Regions from separate parts of the Homo sapiens genome. Here all the other regions are linked to region 2. Evidence: promoter capture Hi-C in human tissues and cell types (Jung and others, 2019). All regions are on one chromosome and are shown on one strand. Each heading gives the region's core, a stretch centred on a gene start or on the middle of the fragment in contact. The rest is flanking DNA. Distances are from core to core; before and after follow the strand shown. Region 1 holds the start of PLIN1 (perilipin 1). Region 2 holds the start of CIB1 (calcium and integrin binding 1). Region 3 has its middle 33 kb from the start of FURIN.

The links. The method cuts DNA at HindIII sites, captures the fragments that hold promoters and counts their contacts. A contact is called where the count stands out against the background at its distance.
Region 1: the fragment with the promoter of PLIN1 here is called in contact with the fragment with the promoter of CIB1 in region 2 in 2 of the 25 tissues and cell types used here (heart left ventricle and mesenchymal stem cells).
Region 3: a contact is called between a fragment that was not itself captured here and the fragment with the promoter of CIB1 in region 2, in 1 of the 25 tissues and cell types used here (lymphoblastoid cells).

Annotation. Positions count from the first base shown.
Region 1 is chr15:89,676,680-89,681,056 of GRCh38, reverse strand. PLIN1 (perilipin 1) reads left to right here and starts at 1,690. Exons shown (of 9, transcript NM_002666.5): 1 at 1,690-1,806; 2 at 3,554-3,612. The coding sequence starts at 3,568. The HindIII fragment of the contact is 12,360 bases long and covers 1-4,377 here.
Region 2 is chr15:90,232,479-90,236,426 of GRCh38, reverse strand. It overlaps CIB1 (calcium and integrin binding 1), which reads left to right and starts at 2,486. Exons shown (of 7, transcript NM_006384.4): 1 at 2,486-2,592; 2 at 2,724-2,758. The coding sequence starts at 2,542. It overlaps GDPGP1 (GDP-D-glucose phosphorylase 1), which reads right to left and starts at 2,218. Exons shown (of 4, transcript NM_001013657.3): 1 at 2,135-2,218; 2 at 1,831-1,905. RefSeq lists silencers at 2,084-2,523, 2,544-2,993. The HindIII fragment of the contact is 18,702 bases long and covers 1-3,948 here.
Region 3 is chr15:90,833,157-90,837,295 of GRCh38, reverse strand. No RefSeq gene overlaps it. Among named protein-coding and RNA genes, the nearest start is that of FURIN, 33 kb to the left of the region's middle. The HindIII fragment of the contact is 6,342 bases long and covers 1-4,139 here.

The DNA.
Region 1 (4,377 bases), core at 441-2,940, 550 kb after region 2:
AAAAATCGAAGAAGTTCTTCGTAGATGTACAGCCCAGCACATTCACAACTGAGCATTGTTGCCTGACAATTCATTTATTCAACAATGAATGTTTGAGTGCCATGCATGGTTTTGGGTATCCACTTGTGAGCAAGATGACCTAGGTCCCTGCTCTCACTTGGTGGAGGGGTAGGGAAAGCAGGTAGGTACGGAGAAGGAAAGAAGATAGAACTCTATGCCCTGCAAGCTACTGCTAGAAAACTAACACTTCTGTCTTCCCTCGGGACTCTCCTAGGCCCTTTCACCACTTCTCACCTCTCACCCACATTCTGCACTCCCAGCTAAAGCAGCCAAAGGACTATTTGATTTGGCAGAGCTTTCAGGCACAAAGCCCTATGTTCCCTCTGGCCCAAAGCCACTACTCTGAAGGCTGAAAACTGCCCTTTGGCTCAGGTTGCTGTCCAGTCACAGCCTCACAGATAATTTGTGCTGAACCTTGAGGTGAGGGCAGAGGCCACTTCTTTAAATACTTTGTCTTCTCTACTGCCTTACATTTGAAAAGCACAGGTTGGATCAATAAGTATTAAACGTATAGCGTATTACTCCTTTGAAGCCTCCCTGCTTGACTCCTCCCTTTCCTGCCTTCTCATTCCCTACTTTATTGCATCACAGATACGTAATTTATTACCAAGGATCTTTCATAATTCCCCACCCCTGCCTCTTTCTTCTCTTGCCCACACTGTGTGACTTAACAGAGTCAACAATACATATAATTCCACCAGCAACAAAGAAAATAAGTTTTGTTTTCCTATTGTCTGTTTTCATGAAGAGGCCCTTCTTAGTTAATCTGAAAGCTATGGCTTATACCATAGTCCTCCATCATATCTAAAGCCAGGAACTAGAACTTGGGCTTGTGCTTGAGTCCTGGGTAAAGAAGGGTTGAGTGGTGCTAATTCTTGGCTGTCTGGGTGCTCTTGATTAGTGATAGAATCCTAGTCAACACTGTCGCTTATCCAGACCCAGGAGAATAAAAATCTACTTGGCTCTCCTACTCTTCATTCTGGTAGCATCTTAGGCCAGGTAAAGTTCAATAAATTTTTTTGAATTCTAAGAAGTGGGAATTCCTCCCTCAACTCAAAGGCTATATTGTCAAAAACTCAACTCCCGGCTCTGTCGCTTCTTCACTGAGGGCAATTTATCTCCATAATCAAAGATGAATACATTCAGATGAACTCTTCTGTGTGGGTTTAAATTTTACTGTTCAGCATTCAGTCTTGCTAGTAAATAAGAAAAGATGAGAGAAATGGATTGAAAACTCCCACAAGACCCTCTATGGAAAAGGAGCCAAAAGATTGCAGAGGTATATAGAACTTTAGAGCTTTTGAGTTTAATGATGTCTATCCCTATACCTTCTTTCTGGAAAGCAGATTTTTGTGAATTGAGGGCAGGAACATTACAGAACTGATGCTTCATGGCTCTGGAATACTAAGTCCTCTGAGCCTGGATCTCCTTCAGCTCTGCCACCTACCTCCTTGTTTGCTAAATGTCCTTAGAGAAGTTAGGATATGCCTGGGGAACCCTGGGTCATATAACCATGACAACTGGCTGACCCTGTTGTCTCTCCCTCTCTGCCCTCCTCTAGCTGGGAGGTGGAAGCAGCATTGCCCAAGCCTCCCAGGAGTGACAGGAATTGTTTCTGCCTGAGGAGACACTCTGCAGCCTGGGCTCTGTGAGACTGAGGTGGCGGTCAGCCGGAGTGAGTGTTGGGGTCCTGGGGCACCTGCCTTACATGGCTTGTTTATGAACATTAAAGGGAAGAAGTTGAAGGTAAGGGCCTCTTGGGGATTTTGCTGGGGATGAAAAACTCTGCAGGGAAACTACTGAGGGAGAGATTCTGGTATAGATACCAGAATCTAGAAATAGAGGAATTGGATAGGCACAGTGGATCATGCCTTTAATCCCAGCACTGCAGGTGGCCAAGGCAGGTGGATCACTTGAGCCCAGGAGTTCAAGAACAACCTGGGCAACACAGTGGGATCCTGTCTCTATAAAAAAAGAGAAAAAATTAGCCCTGCATTGTGGTGCATGCCTGTAGTCCCAGCTACATGAGAGGCTGAGGTGGGAGGGTACCTTGATCCCAGGAGGTCAAGGCTGCATTGAGCCATGATCGTGCCACCACATTCCATCCTGGGCAACAGATTGAGACCCTGTCTCAAAAAACAGATAGGGAGAGGGGGAGAGGGACAGACAGAGAGAAAGAGAGAAATAGAGGAATTAACCCAGAGCCTTTTCAAAGATGAAACCTTTAACTTGTTTATTTATTTTTTTAGAGATGGGCATCTCACTGTATTGCCGAGGCTGATCTCAAACTCCTGGGCTCAAGCAATTCTCCCATGTCAGCCTCAGTAGCTGGGATTACAGGTGCTTGCCAGTGCACCCAGCTTGAAACTTCTTGTTTTAGTCTCTTTTGGACCCTCATTTAAGAGCCTTAAGATTTTATCTAAAACTTTTTATCTCTTATGGCTACCTGCATTTTTTATTTCCTAACCTGAACTCCTTTTTTTTTTTGAGACAGAGTCTCCCTCTGTCACCCAGGCTGGAGTGCAGTGGCAGGATCTCAGCTCACTGCAACCTCCACCTCTCAGGCTCAAGCGATCCTCCTGCCTCAGCCTCCCAAGTAGCTGGGATTACAGCTGCCCACCACCACGTCTGGCTAATTTTTGTATTTTTAGCAGAGACGGAGTTTCACCATGTTGCCCAGGCTGGTCTTGAACTCCTGAACTCAGGTGATCTGCCTGCCTTGGACTCCCAAAGTGCCGGGATTACAGGCCTGAGCCACCGCGCCTGGCCTCTTAACCTGAACTCTTATAGGAAACATTATTCTTGGCCGGGCATGGTGGCTCTTGCCTGTAATCACAGCACTTTGGGAGGCCAAGGTGGGCAGATCACTTGAGGCCAGGAGTTCGAGACCAGCCTGGCCAACATGATGAAACCCCATCTCTACTAAAAATACAAAAATTAGCCAGTGTGGTGGTTCATGCCTGTAATCCCAGCACTTTGGGAGGTCTAGGCAGGTGGATCACTTGAGGTCAGGAGTTCGACACCAGCCTAGCCAACATGGTGAAACCCCATCTCTACTAAACAGAAAAAAAAAAAAAAACTAGCCGGGCGTGGTGGTGGGCGCCTGTAATCCCAGCTACTTGGGAGGCTGAGGCAGGAGAATCCCTTGAACCCGGGAGGCGGAGGTTGTAGTGAGCCGAGATTGTGCAACTACACTCCAGCCTGGGCAACAGAGCAAGAATCCATCTCAAAAAAAAAAAAAAAGAAAGAAAGAAAAGAAAAAGAAAGAAACATCAGTCTTGACAAGTAAGCTATGGAGCAACTCATTGCTATGGGACCCTAAGGAGTGGGGCTATTGTGTGTGATATTCACCCTCCAACCTAATGCCTTCTGTTCAGGGCAAATGGGCCCCCAGGCAGCCTGGGCCTAGTTGGTGGCCATGAGAGGTAGGGAAGTGACCCAGTGGAGCTCAAGCCTGAGGGCTTCTGATGGGACCTGGGACTCTGTTTTGCAGCTTGAGGAGCGAGGATGGCAGTCAACAAAGGCCTCACCTTGCTGGATGGAGACCTCCCTGTAAGTAACTTGGGCTCATCTGTGACAGGGGATGGACAACTGAGGGAGGAGGAAGAAGCAGGGAGGGGAGATGCAGGGGACTTAGAGCAAGATATTCCCAGATTATAATCCTAGTTCATTGACTACCATGGCTTAGTTATTCTTGCCCTCACCACCTTTTGTAGGGGGCAGTTGGAGGATCTGGGAGGGGAAAAAAAGATGCCTATTAAAAATTAAGCACCTTGAAAAAAAGGGACAGAAATCCTGGCTTAGGGACGGGGGGAGTGGAGAGGAAGGAAACTACTGTTTAAACCCTGACGCAGAAGCCCATGCTCTGTCCACCACCCAGCTGGATGTGCATTCAGTGCAGAGCCACTGTATTCTGTGTCTCCAGCATCATTCATAACGGCAAATGTCACCTGTCGGAGTTAGACGGTGCACAGCCTGTGCTGCTGTGTGGGGGGAAGGGTGGGATATTCCATGTGTCTGGTGTTCTATCTCTGACCTGGTTTTCACTGTGACTTGAAGTGATTTGATACTTTTAGGGATGCTTGATGGCTCCTGGCAAGGCATCTCAGATTTGGGCACAGTTCGGATAGTGAAACTTAAAAATTATGAACCTGTGCAATATCCACCTTGCCCAAGTTACGCTTTTACTAACTCCTGCACTAGGAATCACTTTGTTTTGTATTGAATCATAGAACAGAGAGAGGCGTAAAATGGTCAAGTACATGGTTAAGCCATTCTAACAGACGGTGGTTTATTCCCTTCCCAGGATCTCTTTCC
Region 2 (3,948 bases), core at 1,237-3,736:
AGCCAAGTGAAGTGACTGAGAGATCTAGATCACAGCTGGTCACCAGGCACAAAGCTGACTCTCATGTCTTCACTATAAAGAGATACTTATGGCTGGGTGCAGTGGCGCACGCCTGTAATCCTAGCACTTTGGGAGGCCAAGACAGGCGATCACCTGAGGTTGGGAGTTCGAGACAAGCCTGACCAACATGGAGAAACCCCGTCTCTACTAAAAATACAAAACTAGCTGGGTGTGGTGGCACATGCCTGTAATCCGAGCTATTCAGGAGGCTGAGGCAGGAGAACTGCTTGAACTCAGGAGGCGGAGGTTGCGGTGAGCTGAGATCATGCCATTGCACTCCAGCCTGGGCAACAGGAGTGAAACTCTGTCTCAAAAAAAAAGAAGACAGATACTTATTACCATGCAGTCCAGGTATTCGCCTTGGCTTGTAAGAGGCAAACAAGGTCTATTTAGTACAGGAGACATAATGACAGCTTCTTGCTTTTTGCCTAAGCTTTTACTAACAGAAGACTAACTCTTTCTCGGACAGAAAGAGCCTGCTATTAAGAGAAAAATGATCGGCCGGGCACGGTGGGTCACGCCTGTAATCCCAGCACTTTGAGAGGCCGAGGTGGGCGAATCACGAGGTCAGGAGATCCAGACCATCCTGGCTAACAGGGTGAAACCCCGTCTCTACCAAAAATACAAAAAAATTAGCCGGGTGTGGTGGCGGGTGCCTGTAGTCCCAGCTGCTGGGGAGGCTAAGGTAGAAGAATGGCGTGAACCCAGGAGGCGGAGCTTGCAGTGAGCCAAGATCATGCCACTGCACTCCAGCCTAGGCGACACAGCGAGACTCTGTCTCAAAAAAAAAGAGAAAAATGATCAGGTTGGGATGGGCCTATACCCTAGTTATTTTTTTTTATTTTTATTTTTTGAGACAGAGTCTCACTCTGTTGCCCAGGCTGGACTGCAGTGGCACAATCTCCGCTCACTGCAACCTCCAGCTCCCAGGTTTAACCATGTCTGGCTAATTTTTGTATTTTTAGTAGAGATGGGGTTTTGCCATGTTGGCCATGCTGGTCTTGAACTCCTGGCCTCAAATGATCCGCCTGCTTCAGCCTCCCAAAGTGCTGAGATTACAGGCATGAGCCACCGCGCCTGGCCTTGAATATTTCTACAATGATGGAATGTACCTGTTAATACAGTGTGTCTTATCAAACACATGCTGCCAAGGAGAGCACTGGGTATTCTTCCAGTGTAAAGTAGATTCCTAGGCAGTCTAGGGAGTCAGGAAAGGCTTCCCTGAGGATGAGATGGAAGAGGGACTGAGGGCCCAAAGTGGCTGAAAGACAGAGAGCCAATAGGAGGAAGTCCAGTTACAGAGGGCCAGGATTTGGGTTTTTAACCATTTAATGGTTATAAACTGAGACTAACATACTCAGATTTAGACTTTACAAAGATCAGCAAGTATAATGGATTGGAAGGATCAAGAATTAATCCCAGCCTGACCAACACAACCTCCACTTCCTCCTCCCAGCAGTTTGGAATCCTTACCTTTTGCAATAGTATACGTTCATTCATTTATTATGCATTCGATAATATTTACTGAGAGCCTACTATGTGCCAAACATTATCCTAGAGGTTAAGAGGGGACAAGAGCAAAGGGTCAGCAGTCTAGGGGTGAGATGGAGTCAAAAGGACGGCAGGTCAGCTGGAATGATGAGAACAGCAGTGGAGAGCCTTTAAAAGTGCCTTGGACTGGACCGATTACCTTCTAAATGCCGGCGCCCGGAAAAATCACTAACACCCTTTGGACTTACGTATTTCCATCTTTGTAAAATGGGAACCTACCTCGCAAGGGATGTTGCAACAATCGAAGAAAACTATGCACAATGCTTGACATCCAGTGGGTCCTCAGTAAATAGCCTAAGAAGGAAGCAAGGTTATGGTTACTTCTGGAAGAGGTGGCTTGGGGGCTGCGACAGGTGCAGCGATTGCCTGATGATAACATCTAGAAAAGCCCTTGCTGGGCAGAGGGGCAGCCGACGACCCCCGCCACTCAGCGAGTCTCCAGGTTTCCCGGAAACGCTAGCTCCAGTGACTTCTCAGATGCCCCTATGGGACCCCACCCAGGGCTGCCGCCGCCACCACCTACTGCAGCCGAAGCGGATGCACCTCGCGACTTTCCCCGCAGCCGCTGCCGGGGCCACAGCGAGGTCATGACGCCCGTGACGCATACGCAGCCAGCACGCACGCGCGCGGCGTGGCCCGCCCCCCCCTCCCACCCCGGAGGCGGGGCCGTGAGTCCCGGGCTCCGCCCCGGAGCGTCGGGCCCCTCCCCGGGCCCCGCCTCCAGCTCGCCTAGGACCGCTTGGAGCCGGCAGCTCGCCTGCCAAACCCGGCTGGGAACGCCTGGCAGCTTTTAGGAGGGGGCGGGCCCGGGGGTGGTGGCCCCAGGAGCGGTTGCCGCGGGGACCGGGCAGTGACGCGGCCCAAGGGCGGAAGTGAGAAAGTTGTCTGCGTCTCGAGGCGAGTTGGCGGAGCTGTGCGCGCGGCGGGGCGATGGGGGGCTCGGGCAGTCGCCTGTCCAAGGAGCTGCTGGCCGAGTACCAGGTGCGCGGGACGCCTGGCCCTGGGGAGCTCGCGTGCGGGCCTCTTCTCGGGAGCAGGGTCCGGGAGCTGGCTGCGGGGCGGCCGCGGCCTCCCAGCGGTCCGCTAATCCCCGCTCTGGCTTTGCCTTCCAGGACTTGACGTTCCTGACGAAGCAGGAGATCCTCCTGTAAGTGCTGCCTTGAACCCTGCCTCCGACCCCGGGATCCTCTAGAGACAGCTTCGGGGGCGCTGTCCCGAGGGAGGGGCGGGGGCTGGCCTGAGGTCTGCAGAGGAGCGGGAGCTGGAGGCCGGGAGACCTAGCCCGGGCTGCGCCCTCCTCCCGGCACGCCCTCCCCGCCCTCGCCTGAGGCCCCAGCGTGGCACCGCGGAGCCACCTTACAGCCTCCAGGAAAAGTTAGGCGCTCTTTGACCCTGGGCTCCACTAGCTTCAGCACTGCCGAACTTCCTGCCCCAGTCCGGCAGGGGCCGACCTTGCCCAGTGGCTAAACCACAGAAGCCTTGGGGAGCCCGGCTCCTTCTCCCAACTTTACCTGAATAATACAGTAACCGTTATCGCTTTCTGAGCACTCACCATGTGCCAGGGACTGTGCTAAATGGTTGCCTGCGTTACCTAATTTAATCTTTAGGAGAGAGGTACTGGACAATGAAACAGGTTCAGAAAGGTTTGGTAACTGCTTAAGACAACACTCTGAGTAAGTAGATTTGAACTTGGGCTGGAAGCCCTTTTGCCGGATTTATGCAGGCCAGGTTCCTGTGGCAAAGATAAGCTCATGGGAAGGAGGTGGAGGCCGAGGAGGACAGTTCAGTGTGGTTGCTAAAAAGGAGGCTTTGAGGGTAAGAGATCCCTGGAGTGAAGGTGAGAATGAGATTTTTGGTTTTGCTCTTTTCTCCGTTTTTTTTTTTTTGAGACAGCGTCTCGCTCTGTCGCCCAGGCTGGAGTGCTGGGGCACGATCTTGGCTCACTGCAGGCTCTGCCTCCGGGTTCAAGTGATTCTCCTGCCTCCGGGTTCAAGTGATTCTCCTGCCTCAGCCTCCTGAGTAGCTGGGATTATAGGCACCCGCCACCATGCCCGGCTAATTTTTGTATTTTTAGTAGAGAAGGGGTTCACCATGTTGCTCAGACTGGTCTCAGACGCCTGACCTCCAAAGCTCCGCCCGCCTTGGCCTCCCAAAGTGCTGGGATTACAGGTGTGAGCCACCGTGCCTGGCCAATTCTTTAGGGCCAACTTCTGGCTCCTTTCCCAACTTCTTCATCCCTTGGGGATCTCTAGAATCAGTGCCAAGCACATAGTAAATGCTCAGTAAATACTCATTGCAAGAATAGACTCCTAGGCTGTACTGCCTTGTGACATGTCC
Region 3 (4,139 bases), core at 14-2,513, 600 kb before region 2:
GCTTCGCCGGCTCTGAGCCTCTGAGTCACTGGAACAAGGCAGAGCCAGGTGGTCTGGACTGTCACGGAAGCCTTCCAGAAAAGGAGGCCTCGAAGCCTAGGGGCGAGGAGGAGATTCTGGTGGAGGTAAAAGCACCTGCAAAAGCCAAGCAGTGGTCGGCTGGGTGTGGTGGCTCACGCCTGTAACTCAGCATTCTGTGAGGCCGAGGCGGCAGATCACTTGAGGTCAGGAGTTCGAGACCAGCATGGCCAACATGGTGAAGCCCCGTCTGTACTAAAATACAAAAATTAGCCAGGCATGGTGGCACACACCTATAGTCCCAGTTACTCGGAAGGCTGAGGCAGGAGAATCACTTGAACTTGGGAGGCAGAGGTTGCAGTGAGCAGAGATCGTGCCACTGCACTCCAGCCTAGGTGACAGGGTGAGACTCTGTCTCAAAAAAAAAAAAAAAATAGGCAGTGGGCAGGCCTGTGTGGCCAGAGTGAGGGCACAGTGGACGGGGCAGGAGTCAGGGCCCTGCTTAAGAGATAGGTGGGTGATGAGGGGGAGGAAGTGGATGGGGCTTACGGGGCTCACCAATGCCAACGAGGCAGGGGCTTAGGATCAGGACTGGGACAAGCATCTCTGGCAAGAGCGCCTCATGAGATAGCCTGGATGGTTGTTCCTTCCAAGAGAGCCTAAAAACCCAGGGGAACCAGCTTCCCTTTTCAGCTCTTCCCAGGGTCAGCTGCTCCGCAGGGAATCTTATCTTTAGCTGGGACCTCCAGAGACTCTGGGTCCCCACGCTGTCTTCCTGAAAACCCTGTTTACACAAGAGTGTCAATGACTCATCCAGCTTCAAATGTAGTGCTTCCCAACTCCAGCTGTTCAGAAGAATCATCCTCCGTGGATGTGTTTTATGTGTGTGTGAAGGTAAATTGTTTTCTTTTTTCTTTTTTTTTTTTTTTTTTGAGATGGAATCTTGTTCCATCACCCAGGCTGGAGTGCCATGGCATGATGTCGGCTCACTGCAACCTCCTACACCTCCTGGGTTCAAGTGATTCTCCTGCCTCAGCTTCCCAAGTAGTTGGGATTACAGGCGCCCACCACCACGCCTGGTTAATTTTTGTATTTTTAGTAGAGACAGGGTTTCCTCACGTTGGTCAGGCTGGTCTCAAACTCCTGACTTCAGGTGATCCACCTGCCTAGGCCTCCCAAAGTGCTGGGATTACAGGCAGGAGCCACCGCGCCCGGCCTTTGTTTTTATAAAAATGATATATGGCCTGGCACGGTGGCGCATGCTGTCTCTACTAAAAATGCAAAAATCAGCCAGGCATGGTGGCGCGTGCCTATAATCTCAGCTACTTGGGAGGCTGAGGCAGGAGAATTGCTTGAACCCAGGAGGCGGAGGTTACAGTGAGCCAAGATCACACCACTGCACTCCAGCCTGGGCGACAGAGTAAGAGTCCATCTCAGGAAAAGAAAAAAAAAGATGTATGCTGGCTGGGTGCAGTGGCTCACGCCTGTAATCCTAGCACTTTGGGAGACCGAGGCAGGTGGATCACTTGAGGTCAGGAGTTTGAAACCAGCCTGGCCAACATGATGAAACCCTGTCTCTACTAAAAATACACACACAAAAAAATTGTCTAGGCGTGGTGGCGTGCACCTGTAATCCCAGCTACTCAGGCACCTGAGGCAGGAGAATTGCTTGAACCTGGGAGGTGGAGGTTGCAGTGAGCCGAGATCATGCCACCACACTCCAGCCTGGGCGACAGAGAGAGACTCTGTCTCAAAAAAAAAAAAAAAAAAAGATATATGCTAACTCTCAAACAAAACAAGCAATTCAGAAAAGTACAAAGAAGGAAGTAACAAACTCCTCCCATTAGAATGATATCTTCAGGCCGGGTGCATTGGCTTGCACCTGTAATCCCAGCACTTTGGGAGGCTGAGGAGGGTGGATCATAAGGTCAGGAGTTCAAGCCCAGCCTGGCCAAGATGGTGAAACCCCGTCTCTACTAAAAATACAAAAATTAGCTGGGCGTGGTGGCGGGTGCCTGTAATCCCAGCTACTCGGGAGGCTGAGGCAGAGAATTGCTTGAACCCAGGAGGTGGAGGTTGCAATGAGCCGAGATCGTGCCACTGCACTCCAGCCTGGGCGACAGAGTGAGACTCCGTCTCAAAAAAAAAAAAAGAAAGAAAGAAAGAAAAAGAATGATATCTTCATGAAGGCAGGGGTTTCATCGGCTCTGTTCTCTGCTGCACCTAAAACTTCTGGTGCTCAGTACATGCTTACTATAGCCCGTTATTCGTGTTAACCTTGGGGAATGCCACCTACACAGAGAAGTTTGGAGAGATGAAGAGGGATAGGAAGGTTGGGGCTCAGAAAGTGATACCCCAGACTGGGGCTCTGACATGCTGAGGACTGCAAAGCTGCCTAACCTTGTCTTGTACCCTCCCTACCCCCGAGTGGAGGGAGGGACTCTTCCTGGAATTCCTTATCTGACTAAGAAAGTTTCTTTCCAAAAGAATTGCAAAACCAGGTACAGCAGCATGCACCTATAATCCCAGCTATTTAGGAGGTTGAGACTGGAGGATCACTTGAGCCCAGGAGTTTGAGACCAGACCAGGCAACATAGGGAGACTCCGATCTCAAAAAACAACAACAATAAAAGAATTGTGGTTGTCTCGGCCGGGCGCAGTGGCTCATGCCTGTAATCCCAGCACTTTGGGAGGCCGAGGCGAGTGGATCACCTGAGGTAAAGAGTGTTTGAGACAAGCCTGGCCAACATGGTGAAACCCCATCTCTACTGAAAATACAAAAAATTAGCCGAGAATGGTGGCACGTGCCTGTAGTTCCAGCTACTCGGGAGGCTGAGGCAAGAGAATTGCTTGAACCTGGGAGGCGGAGGTTGCAGTGAGCCGAGATCGCACCATTGCACTCCAGCCTGGGCAACAAGAGTGAAACTCTGTCTCAGAACGAACAAACAAACAAACAAATCCAACTTTTGTTCCTTTGCAGTTCCGCCCTCACCTTCCCATAACTTGTCCCACTCAGCTCCCAGTCATTTGCTAACCACTGTCTGAGCACTGAGCCTATTCATTTCTCCATTTTTCCTCTCCTCAACCTTCTGGCCCCTCTTTGAGTTCATATTTTGCATGTCTCATGTGCATGTAATAAGCCTGTTCTTTTTTCTCTTGTTAACTTGATTTTTGTAATAGAGGTGCCGGTCATGACCCTTTACATGGGGAGAAAAGGGATCACCCTCCTTCTGCCCCTGCAGTTCAGAGAAAGGTAAGTCCAAACAATTTTAGATTAGATTGCACCGTACCAGTTCTATTTTAAACTAAATATATTCTATTTTACTTGAGTTTAACAGAAAAAAAAAAAAAGGCAGATCAGGTGCTATGGTTCACACCTGTAATCCCAGCACTTTGGGAGAACAAGGTGAGAGGATCCCAGGAGCTTGAGACCAGCCTGGGCAACATAGTGAGACCCCTGTCTCTACAAAAAAATTTTTAAAAACTAGCTGGGTGTCAGCTGCGTGTGGTGGTTCACACCTGTAATCCCGGCACTTTGGGAGGCCGAGCCAGGCAGATCACGAGGTCGGGAGTTCGAGACCAGCCTGGCCAATATGGTGAAACCCCGTCTCCACTAAAAATACAAAAAATTAGCTGGGCATGGTGGTGCGCACCTGTAGTCCCAGCTACTCAGGAGGCTGAAGCAGAAGAATCGCTTGAACCCGGGAGGCGGAGGTTGCGGTGAGCCGAGATTGTGCCACTGGACTCCAGCCTGGGTGACAGAGCCAGACTCCATCTCGAAACAAACAAACAAACAAACAAACAAACAGACAAACTAGCTGGGTGTGGGAACATGTGCCGCCTGTAATCCTAGCTACTCAGGAGGCTGAGGCGGAAGGATCACTTAAGCCCAGAAGTTCAGAGCTGCAGTGAGCCATGATTGTGCCACTGCACTCCAATCTGGGCAACAGAGTGAGACCCTGTATCTGAAAAAAAAAAAAAAAAAAGGCAAAAAAACCCAGAAAACTTGCTGAATCTTAGATAAATATTTACTTTCCACAAGAGCTATTACTTCATAATGAATTCCTCATGGTTAAGAAAAAAGATTATGAAATTAATTAAGACATTGGAGTCTTGGGGTA